Regions from separate parts of the Homo sapiens genome. Here regions 1 and 2 are each linked to region 3. The links are contacts of gene promoters, found by promoter capture Hi-C in human tissues and cell types (Jung and others, 2019). All regions are on one chromosome and are shown on one strand. The core of a region is centred on a gene start or on the middle of the fragment in contact, and the rest is flanking DNA. Distances in the headings are between cores, read along the strand shown.

Region 1 (4,181 bases), core at 1,235-3,734, 150 kb before region 3:
AAGTCTTTACAAACAGTAACCATGAGACCACTAATATTATTAGTGTTTTGTTTTGTTTTGTTTTGTTTTGTTTCTTTGAGATGGAGTCTTGCCCTGTCACCAGGCTGGAGTGCAGTGGCATGATCTCGGCTCACTGCAACCTCCCCCTCCCGTGTTCAAGCAATTCTCCTGCCTCAGCCTCCCGAGTAGCTGAGACTACAGGCACGCACCACCATGCCTGACTAATTTTTGTATTTTTAATATAGACGGGGTTTCACCATGTTTGCCAGGATGGTCTCGATCTCCTGACCTCGTGATCCGCCCGCCTCAGCCTCCCAAAGTGCTGGGATTACAGGCGTGAGCCACCGTGCCTGGCCTATTAGTCTTTTTTTTTTTTTTAAATGAAGTGCCACCAAAATATGTTAGAAGCATGTCACAGAAATTTTCTTGGGAGAATCATAATGTTTCCCATTTAAAATGCTGGGCTTTTTATATTATTGCATTTAACCCTCATAATAGGATTAGGAGATACATTTGCCCTGAGCTAAGTCACTTACCCGAGATTATGTCATGGACTTCAGAGCTAGTCAGTGGCACAGATCAAATGTAAACCGAGGCTGCTGTAATTTTAAGTCCCATGCTTATATTACACCAAAAATGCCCATCTTCTGGAAAAAGGAATTCTCTATAGCAGGCTGTTACGAAGGACTGAAATCTTAAGTCTATTGAGTCACAATGGAGAATTTCTTTCCCTGTTTTTTCTGCAACATCATCTATACCAGTACCGTCCAACAGAAATATAATGCAAGTCACATACATAATTTAAATTTTTCCAGTGGCCTTTAAAAGTAAAGAAATGGGCAAAACTAATTTTAATGTTTAAAAATAACATATTTAACCTAGTATATCTAAAATAGTATTTCAACATGCAATCAGTATACAAAATTACTGAGATATTTTACAGTCTCTTTTTGTACTGAGTCTTTAAAATCTGGTGTGTATTTTATACTTACAGCACATCTCAATTTGGAGTAGTCACATTTTAGGTGCTCAGTAGCCATGTGTGGCTTGTGGCTGCTACCTTATTGGACAGTCTAGGTCTCAGCATGTATTAATTTTTACTGATGTTTTAAAGACATGGTTCTTTTGTAGAAGACCATAAGAGGTCATCGGTACCAAAAACATACTTTTATTTTCCTTTTCCCTCACAACTGTACTTTGTTTCTCAGAGTGTGTTCTTTCATCCTCTAGTCTTTGTACTAGAGCTGAAATGGGAGCAGCTTATTGTACTAAATAAAAGTCATCTGCTGATGCCTAGTTCATATTTGAAATGAGTGGGATTTGAGAAAGAATCTCTGGTTACTCTGTGAAAGACAAAAGTTCTTGATTGCTTTTCTCTCTTATCAGTTACAATTTCAAATGCAGACTTTTGTTCACATTTAAATATATGCAGCATATGACTGACTTACCTATTGGGAGTAGTTATTAAGCAGAACTGTATCTGAGGTGAACCACTGCAGCTTCTTTTCTAAAGGAGCTCTGCTGCCTGCTCCTTCTCCATTTAAATAATCTGCTGTCAACATTTTTTGTATAGCTTCTTATTTCAGCCTCTTAACATGCAAAATTGGTTTTCCTAGGCTTTCTTATTGTTCTGCCTGGTACACAGTAGGAAGACTGACTGCTACATTCTCTGTTGTTTTCTTAGAAGAGTTAGGCAACAAATAGCCTAAACACAATATAGGCTAAGAATGCTTTCAGAGTTTCCAGTGGAAATATATGATCTAGGAACACAAAAGCGTGTCAAAATTATCAATAAAATATTTCTTCAATGTCTATGATGTCACTCTATGTAGAACACCATACAGTGTTCAAGTTGGTTAGACAAGACCTATTCATTAAACAACAATTGACATGACAAGGTGACTACAGTGTCCCTCCCAGTGTGGAAGCAGCACGGCATGATGGTTGAGAGCCAGCTTTAGGGGTGGACAGTTTTGCATCCCAGTTCTCCACCTTACCAGCCATATCACTTCAGCTGTTACTGCATCTCAGTCTCTTTACCTACACGCCACAATAACTCCGGCCTCCTGGTGTTCATGTAACATTCAAATGAAATGGCATATGCCAAGCACAGTTCCTGGTTTATAGGGACACTTGTCATTGTCATCTTAGGGTAGACTATGCAGCCTACTAGGGTGAGTAGTAGATACAGTGTGTTTTGTCGTTTGAGGAAGGCTTGATGGAGTTAAGTAGGACTTGAGGCCAGTTTTGAAGGCAAATGGATGGGCAAATGCAAAATTAGTCATGGAATTGACTTCAGAAAGAAAAATTACAATTCTTTTATCTAGAATTGAAATGCCTGTGGTTATTTAATGAGATCTCTGTCCTCAGCCTCACTGAACAGAGAGAATTTGACCAAACAGAGCAGTTTCATTAAGGCCATATATTAATCTGTTCTCTCTGTACTACTTCACAGTCTGCATCAAAGGATCATAGAACTCATATTTAGAAATTAGTCTGACTGCAGGAGAAAGCTTATTTCAGGGTTAGGAGAGAGAAAGTTTTCAAGGGAGAAAAGTTGTGAATGGAAATCATAATAATAAAATGAAATTTGTCTTGGTTTACAGATAATCATTTTTGAAAGTTTACTCAACTGTGTGTTGAAACTAGAATCACTATTTAAATCCTTAGGGGGAGTATGTCTTCACTTTGCAGATGAACCTCGCCTGCTGTATTCAATGTAATTTCCCTACTTAACACCAATTAGGAGAAAAGACAGTTTGGATTAGTGAAAAATATACATCATGGGCTTTTTTTTTTTTTTTTTTTTGTAATGGCTTTACTGAGATATAATTCATATACCATACAATTTACAAGCAATTTTTACAACAAGATAAAATAAGAGAACTAACATTTCAGGGGACCCTATATTATGTGTCAGGCACTTTATTATCCTCATACTGGCTTTACAAAATACACATCATTAGCCTTATTTTACAGGTGAGGAAATTAAAGCTACCGGAGGTTAGGTAACCTTCCCAAGATCACCCAGGCGATGAGTGGTAATGCGCTGGGCTGTGCTCTGGTTTTTCTGGGGCCGTTACCCATGTACTTTACTTTATTCCGTGCCACACTGAGATTCCACACTAACCACTAATGAATTGTTTCCAAGAAGAGATCCTTTAGGAGTTTGCTTTAATAAATCGATCAGTCTTCTCAGTATGGCATTTGATAAAGTTCTGTAGCTTGGCAGTAAAACTCTTTAGCTTGATATTTAAGACCTTCCAGGACCTAATACCACCTTTTTAGTTCTTACCTCTCCTGTTCTCTTCCTCTGCTCATCCTCTTTCAATGTCTGGACACACTCACCTAGTGAGTGCACCCCAGATATTTCTGTCCTGTCCTTGGTCTTCATTCATTTTCTATACTCCATCTGGAATGCCTCTACCGCCATCTGAGCTTCAGCTGACAATTTTAGTTCCCATTATAAATAGTCTTCTCAGAATCCTTCCCTTTGGTTTTACTCCTGTTTTCCACTGCCATTTTGTTTATCCTGCTACATTATATTCATCGGATACCTCTTTGTATCATCATTATTCGTGCAACTGTCTTACAGTTGCTAGTAGACTATTCATCCCTCAGTGAGAACACTTGCTTTTTTATGCCCCAGAATACCTTGATGCATAGTAAGCCCTTGGTGATTATTTTTCAAAATAAATAGTTATATCCTAATTTGTAACCCATGCAACTTGTATGAAATGTACATGTCCTTAAACATTAAGTAAACACACCTTCTGTTAATTTACTCAGAAAACCTTCTGTTAATGAATTTGAGAATCTAAAATTTTCAACCCAGGAAAAACAGTCTTTTTTAAATTATGAAATGAATGTAAGTTAATGATATTTTACAGTGACTTGTAAAATGAAAATGTGCAAGGAACATATATGAAGGTTTCTCATTAGAAGATGCTAATAAACCAGTTACTAGATACTGATTTTAGTCAGCTTCAGGGATAAGGGTTCGTTCATGTATTCGCCCAACAAATGTTTATTGAGCCTCTACCATGTGCCAAACAGTGTTCTAGGTGCTGGGGGTACACCAGGAAATGAGACAATAATCTCTGCTTTCATTAGCTTACATCCTAGGAGAAAGAAACTTGATAGGAAGCATAATAAATAGGTAAATTACATAGTATAGTACA
Region 2 (4,054 bases), core at 1,265-3,764, 220 kb after region 3:
AGAAGAGGAGGAAAATAGTAGGTGATAGATAGAAATCTCTCTGGGAAGCACCTGCACTTAAGATGCAGGCAGAAGAGAATGAAGCCAACAAAGGAAGCAGAGAAAGAATAATCAGAAATAGTAAAATTAAGAGAGTGGTATCTTGGAAGAATATTGATCAGACTTTTTTTTAAAGAGAAGACAGGAGCCAGCAGTATTGTGTAAAGAGGTTAGTGAAATGAATATATTGAATATGGCAAATAGTAGAACTTTGACTGTTGACAGAAAAGTTTCAGTGCAGTGGTGAGGGTGGAAGTCTGATTTCAGGGAGTTTATGGTGTGACCCAGAGGCTAGGGATTGAGGGTAGTGAATGTAAACTTTTCTTTCCTGAAGCTTGGCATTGCAAAGGAATGTTAGGGGACTAAAAAGGAATGAAAAGATGAGACGGTTGTTCTCAAGGACTAAGAAGAGTCTATGCTTCAGATTCCACAGACTAAATTTGTAAATGATAATCCCTACATATTATGTAACTTAGAGATGTCATTTTCACGCATTTCTTTCATATAATCTGTCAGAGGATGAGTTTAGCTATATGGATGGGAGATTTGAGGTAAGATGAAGCAGGAGGAAGTTTTTTAAAGGATCTGCAACTGTGAGATAAAATTTAACTGTTCAGAATGGAAGAATTTTCCCTCTGAATAGAGACAGTAATGCTCTAATTTCAATAAGCTCACTTTCCCTCTACCTCTGATATTGATGCCCTCTGCTTCTTAAACGGGTAGCTCAGGGATCCAGGGAAGGTGAATCCCTGGGGTGGTGTCCTCTTCTGGCAATGTGGCCTTTCTTTGTGAGTCCTCCAGTAATCAGGTATTAAAGACCTTATGTTCCTTGGTCTCAGGCAACTAGACAGCCTGAAGGCCAGCAGCATAGGGGATTTGAGAGCTGAGGCTTATCTTTAGCTTCCAGTTTTCATTCATCAGGCCTAAATGTCACTATTCAAATCTAAAATCTAACATGTGCTCAGAGCTGATTTTGGCTTCTTCACCATTCCAGGTAAAACATTTGATGACTTTTCTAGGTTTATCCCTTCTGGTCATAAATTTTTTCCCGAAATCTTGGAATACCGTTGTTCATTTGTATGGTATATAGAATGAAGTAGAATGGATTTTATCTGTTTATTTATTTAAAGCTTCTTAATGGTGTTTAAATCTGTACTTCATTTACCATCTTTGTTTCTATCTGTTTACAATTACACTTTCCAACCTATTGTTTTATTTCTGTCTTCATTTAAGGGTAGTTCATTTTGATTCCTAATGATGACATTTATTTCATATGTCTTCAGGGCGTGGTATGTATGTACTCATAAAAAAGAAAAGTGTTTATGAATTATCTTCATTAGGCTTATAGCTTCACATCCTATTAGCAAGCCCTCTTTTGATTACTATTTTGAATATACAGTTGTTTTTCTATTAAATAACCATACTGCATTCTTCATTGTAGATCCGACTGAAGAACCAGCACCACAGGCCACCAATACAGTTGGTTCTGTTATTGGCGTAATTGTCACCATTTTTGTGTCTGGAACTGTATACTTTATCTGCCAGAGGATGTTGTGTCCACGTATGAAGGGAGATGGGGAAACTATGACTAATGACTATGTAGTTCATGGACCAGCTTCTGTGCCTCTTGGTTATGTGCCACACCCAAGTTCTTTGTCAGGATCTCTTCCAGGTGAGTCAGGATGGATCCATTGAGAATCAAGTCTTTGGTCCTGCAAGACTGCCAGTTTCCATTGTGGAAAAGAATACTACCTAGAGTCTGTCTGAAACCATATTACTCTGAGTTTAAACAATTATAAGGACAAACGTTCTTTTTTACTATTAGCACCTTCTCTTTACACAGAAGGCCTTAGATATGGTTTGGTAGAAATTGTCAAAGCATATAAAGCAAATACATATGCAAGCTCTAAGCCTCTCTGACTGCAATTCTGGATGCATGCTACGGAAGGTGAATCAGCCAGTCATTTAGTGAAAGAGTTGTAAACCACAGGTTAAGTTCACCACCAGGGAACTCTAGTACTATGGAGCCCATGAATAAAAGGAGGCCAAAAATTATATAAGATTCCCTTCAGCCAACAAAGATTTGTAAATAGCTGGATGATAGAAGGGAGAATATGTCTTAAGTTTTCTCCTGACTTCATGTGCTAATAAGGGACAAAGGGCTAGTTTAGGCATAGCTGAGTAGCCAGAAGTTTTAAGCTTGGGTAGGCCGTGTTGCTCTAGGGAACTGGCCTTCTTTTTAATGTTTTCTGGTGCCCTTAGTTAAAAGACGCCTTCCTTTTAATGAATATGGAGAAGGCGGTGCCTTGCAAAAACCCTCTGAAAATAGGAACTTACTATGGGTGTAACTCTTAAGTAGACAAACATGGTTTTTAAACTGTTAATGGTAGTGTTGCTTTGTTGCCATACCTATTTTCAGTTAGTGGAATTTGGGAAGCTTCTTGGAAAAAATAGAATTTTTTCTTTAGCACTGGTAGTTTTGATTCTAGCAACATTTATATTCATTAGATGAAAAAATATTCTTTCATATGTTGTTTGTGCCCTAAAAATGTTTTTTTGTTTTCTTTTGAGCAAGTCTGGTATTTAATATGCCCTGCCTCACAACCTCTACCCTTTACAATCCTTTCAAATCCTCCAAGAGGTTGAAAAGCCCTTATTTTAAATAGCTCTGCTTCTACCAGGGGAGGGAGAAGGTGGGAGCTATTCTTGGCCTTGTTCTAGGCCAGCTCTTTCAATGGAAGCATTGACTTCTAGAAAACGTTCATTTCCTTTCTCCATTAAATGTTTTCAATTATAGGAAAAGAGTGTAAGTTATTTTAAAATCAGACTACTTCACTGTTGATATTTGTAATCCTACTGTTGAATGAAATTGCTTGATACATTTTTATATATCATACTCATCTTCAGTTTTTAACCTCCTTTTATTTTAGGAATGTCTCGAGGTAAATCAATGATCAGCTCCCTCAGTATCATGGGGGGAAGCAGTGGACCCCCCTATGACCGAGCCCATGTTACAGGAGCATCATCAAGTAGTTCTTCAAGCACCAAAGGCACTTACTTCCCTGCAGTAAGTAGTCTGTTTTCCTTTGAATGCGACATACATAAGATCTTAGATTTTTTAACTCATTTAAATGTGGGTGATCAGTGATAGTAATGTAAAAGTAGTTTTTGAATGTAAAATTTAGGCATAAAAGGCTCAAAGGACTTACCACACACCACCATCCATGCTTATAAATCTTTTAAGTTACTGTGTAGTAACCAGAATACTTGAAAGCACTGGGCATTAATTTCACATTTCAAGTAAAAGTAGAACTACTGAATGGTACCTATTGAGGGATTAGGGCCTTCATTTTATGACTTCCCAAAAGAGGAAGCACACCTGGAATTTCTCCTAAATCAATAATTTTTCTCTAAATACTTACTATTTTAAATAACCAGGACCTAAATGTACTGACCAATGATTTTTAGGTTACAGATTTTCGTTTTTGTCACTTTGCACTTTTTAGCCATGATGAGGTCTTAGGGAATGAGGAAGCCATAGTCCCAAAGTACTGTTTGAGGTCAATTCTTTGGAAAAGAAGAATTGTGCTAATAGTGTATTGTAAAGAAACACTAATAGAGATGAAGGAAGAAAAGTTGAAAGAAAGTCTGATAGTTTCTATGTTGTTATTTTAATATTTTAATTATTTTTTTCTTTTAGATTTTGAACCCTCCACCATCCCCAGCCACAGAGCGATCACATTACACTATGGAATTTGGATATTCTTCAAACAGTCCTTCCACTCATAGGTCATACAGGTAATACACATCCTTCTCTAAAATAAGGTGCAGTATTTATTGAAAGTGTTTCAGTTGTGGACCTGATATAGCCCCAAATGAGTAGACGATGGTCACCAGAGAGAGACTAGTCATCTTATCTTGATAGTACTGACATTGCCTCTACCACAAATCCTTTCCTTTCAGGACGTTATACTTTTTTTTTAATTTTTTGAGATGGATTTCGCTCTTGTTGCCC
Region 3 (3,912 bases), core at 827-3,326:
AGAATTGCTTGAACCTGGGAGGCAGAAGTTGCAGTGAGCTGAGATCGTGCCACTGCACTCCAGCCTGGGCAACAGAGCGAGACTCCATCTCAAAATTAAAAAAAAAAAAAAAATTAAGAACATTAGCTGGGTGTGGTGTGCGTTTGTGGTCCCAGCTACTCAAGAGACTGAGGCAAAAGAATCACTTGAGCCCAGGTGGTCAAAGCTGCAGTGAGTCGTGATTGTGCCATTGCACTCCAGTGTGGGCAACAGAGCGAGACCCTGTCTAAAAAAATGAATAAATAAACAATGATATTTATAAATTAAACATATATAATAGAAAATATTTCTTTAATCATTATTTTAATCAATATCCTTTGTTCACTGTCATAACTGAAAAAATAACATATCACTTCAATGAAAACAGGTTCAGGCCGGGCACAGTGGCTCACGCCTGTAATCCTAGCACTTTGGGACGCCGAGGCGGGCGGATTGCCTGAGCTCAGGAGTTCGAGACCAGCCTGGGCAACACGGTGAAACCCCATCTCTACTAAAATAGAAAAAAATTAGCTGGGCGTGGCGGCATGTGCCTGTAGTCCCAGCTACTCAGGAGTCTGAGGCAAAAGAATTGCTATAACCCGGGAGGTGGAGGTTGCAGTGAGCCGAGATCACACCACTGCACTCCAGCCTGGGCAACACAGCGAGACTCCGTCTCTAAAAACAAACAAAACACAAAACAAAACAAAAAAAGAAACAGGTTCATTGTATTAAAGCACCGAATACGAAGTTTCTAATAATGGAAAGGTCTACTTTGTAACTAGCATGGATTACCCCATGTAGAGAGATTCAAAAACTGTGATAGCTCTACACCCTGAACCCTGAAGTGTATCAGATGATAAAAGATAAAACACACTTGCAGATCAGTCCCTTGTTGCATCAGGAAAATCACTGCAATGGGAAATTACTCTGGTGTTTACTTTTCTTTGGTAACTCTTTCAAACCTAGCTTTAGCAACATTGTAATTCAAGAGTCATCCTTTGGTTACAAGTAGAGTTAGTTTCACACAATGGACCTTTGTTCACAAGCATTCTCAGTCAACCTAATCCTCCTGTAGTTATTGGTTAAGACTAGGGTGTGTAGCTGTTGGCCGTACAGGCCTAGACTTAACTTGCAATTGCATAGCGCTTCAGGTCTGCAAGCTCTTTCAAAACAGAGGTGAAGATACTGTCAAAGGTTAGACCATATGGCAAACTAAGTGTCAATGGTTTAGTAACGTTGCATTTGTGTGTGTGTTTATGGAGGTGGGGATGGGGCCAGCAGTAATTTAGAAACTTCCACAACCTATGCCCTATGCAGTTCTTTTCCATTCATTCAGTCAACAAAAATATTTTAGTTAAATATTTACTGAGCACCTATTGTGTACCAGGCACTATGCTAAGTGTTAGGGATACAGTTTTAATATATGTTACAGACACCAGCATTTTCACCATTATTATCCTATCTACAAACAATAAATCCCGCAGAAAGCCAAATACCTTCCCTGAAGTTTGTCTTGCAGATAATATTTAACTCAAGAATTGCCATCTTTAATTGAGGACTCCATCCTCCAATTATGGAAAGAGGATTCTCAGAACTATGCCCCCAATAGGATGCACTATAAGCCCTTGAACATCAAAAAACTGCTCTCAGTGGTTGCCTCTGAGGAGGGAGACTAGGAGACTGGGGCACGGGGGTGAGGGGTAGACTTGTCTCTGTGTCTATTTTTGTACTGTTTGACATTTTCCCCATGTGCATTTATTTTAACTTGCGCGGGCCGCGAGGCAAGGCTCACCTGCAGACCCTCGGGCCACCAGCAGGGAGGCACGCACTCCCCCTCGCAGCGCGCCCAGCCCGGGGTCAGCGGTGTGGCTGAGCTGGGGGGGAGCGCGGGGCGGTGGGGGGAGCCACCTCCCTGCGGGGCTCAGCGCTGGGGCCGGGAGCCCGGAGCCTCCGCGGGGAGGGACGCGCTAATGTTGCCGGGAAGCAGCTCCGGGTTGCAGGGCAGGAACGTGCCCTTCCCCCGCGGCAAACTTGCCGTCGCTGCGACGGAAGCAGGAACTTGCTAACCACAAAACCCGCCAGGCCGGTGCGGGAGCTGCGGAGCATCCGCTGCGGTCCTCGCCGAGACCCCCGCGCGGATTCGCCGGTCCTTCCCGCGGGCGCGACAGAGCTGTCCTCGCACCTGGATGGCAGCAGGGGCGCCGGGGTCCTCTCGACGCCAGGTAAAGGGGTCTCCCCAATACCCACCCCCGACCGGCCGCAGGCGACGTCGCTACCTGCGGAGAGAGTCGGTCCCCTCCTTTCCAGGGGCCGAGGCTCCTTCACCCACACCCGAGCATCCAAAGGACCAGCTGGGGCCAATAAGGGCTGACCAGGATCCTTGAGTCGCTGCAGTATTCCAAAGGGGACCTCTAGGCGGGCTCAAGGCACCTGCCATAAATGGCTCTGGCTCTGCGTTGACATCAGAAGGAGAGGCAGAAGAATAGCTCAGTAGGCAACATGCATTTCCTCAAAGGAAGAGAAAATGTTCCCTGTTTTCTTGTCGTTGACTCTGTATTCATTATTGAAACTGCTAATTGTCTAATTCTCTGTAGAGTGTGTGTGTGTATACAGTTATAAGCATCTTGGTAAATTATAGTGTGCTGTAAGACGATTTCCAATATTTGAACTAATTACGTGCGAGTAAGTTTTAGCGACTCTTGTATGCAGACGTTAAAACTCAGGGGCATCCTCTCTCACCCGCCTGTATCCTTTTACCCCGTCTTTCAACAAGATTCAACTCGACTTCAGGCCCTTAAAGCCTAAATAATAATGGATTAGAAAACGTCGCTAACCTAATATTGCTGAGCCTCTTTAATGATATAAAACTCTTAAACACTTCTCTCAATGCTGCATACTGAAAACAACTCCTGCCCCATCTCCTTACATAGTTCAGGTTTCTTTGCAAAAGCTTGAAAAGAGGCTACATTAGAATCCATTCAAAATAAAGTATTGGCCTGGTTTTCTCTTGATTCCCTAGAGGCTTGCAAAATATGGCAGCGTATTAAGTACCTTGGCCAGAATTATTAACCTGGGGAGTCCACGATAAGGTATCCATGGATAGAATTCAGGATGTCTGTGAACTTGAGTGGAAAAAATTATTATTTCACCGACTTCTGAAATGGAATGTAGGCAAAAGCCACAGTAGTATTAGCAGTAGCTATGATTTGCCCCCTGTAAATATTGCCGATATCTTTATATCACATGACTTGTTGCACGTTTCAAAATATTATCTATACTCAATACCACGTCAAAATTATGGCAGTTATTAGATGACCACTTGTTACTTAATAGGTTAATAAAGAAGCACATATTATGTCCCACAACTTTTTGTAAGTTTTAACTAAAATGAGGATAATAATGGGATCTGTAAAGATTAAATGACATGATATATATAAAGTGCTTAGCATAGAAACTGGCATTTTAGACGCAATAAATGTTACTATTTTACTGTATACAGAATTTTGACAAACAGCAAGAAAAGTATTAGACTTGTGTTTTATTACCATATACTGGTTTGTTTCTGGGTTTTTTTTTTTTTTTGGTTTTACCTTTTTTTAAAACTAAAAGTCCATAGTTCACATAATGTTCACTCTGTGTGTTTTACATTTCTATGGGTTTTGACAGATGTTCAATAACATGTATCCTCCATTACAGTGTTATACAGAATAGTCTCAATGCCCCAAATATCCCTTGCACTCCACCGATTCATCCTCCCACTCCTGTTCTCCTGGTGACCACTGGCCTTCTTACTGCCGCTGTAGTTTGCCTTTTTTAGAACGTCATACAGTTAGATTCATATCTGTTCAGACTGGCTTCTTTGACTTAGGAATATGCAGTTAAGATTCCTCCATG

Evidence for each region. The method cuts DNA at HindIII sites, captures the fragments that hold promoters and counts their contacts. A contact is called where the count stands out against the background at its distance.
Region 1: a fragment that was not itself captured here is called in contact with the fragment with the promoter of MANSC1 in region 3 in 1 of the 25 tissues and cell types used here (hippocampus).
Region 2: a contact is called between a fragment that was not itself captured here and the fragment with the promoter of MANSC1 in region 3, in 1 of the 25 tissues and cell types used here (hippocampus).

Annotation. Positions count from the first base shown.
Region 1 is chr12:12,493,865-12,498,045 of GRCh38, reverse strand. The region is part of intron 4 of DUSP16 (dual specificity phosphatase 16); the gene reads left to right. Among named protein-coding and RNA genes, the nearest start is that of DUSP16, 67 kb to the left of the region's middle. The HindIII fragment of the contact is 4,009 bases long and covers 480-4,181 here.
Region 2 is chr12:12,124,348-12,128,401 of GRCh38, reverse strand. It overlaps LRP6 (LDL receptor related protein 6), which reads left to right. Exons shown (of 23, transcript NM_002336.3): 20 at 1,481-1,711; 21 at 2,970-3,106; 22 at 3,740-3,837. Among named protein-coding and RNA genes, the nearest start is that of MIR1244-4, 14 kb to the right of the region's middle. The HindIII fragment of the contact is 3,485 bases long and covers 772-4,054 here.
Region 3 is chr12:12,348,406-12,352,317 of GRCh38, reverse strand. MANSC1 (MANSC domain containing 1) reads left to right here and starts at 2,076. Exons shown (of 4, transcript NM_018050.4): 1 at 2,076-2,240. RefSeq lists a silencer at 1,766-2,075. The HindIII fragment of the contact is 3,549 bases long and covers 382-3,912 here.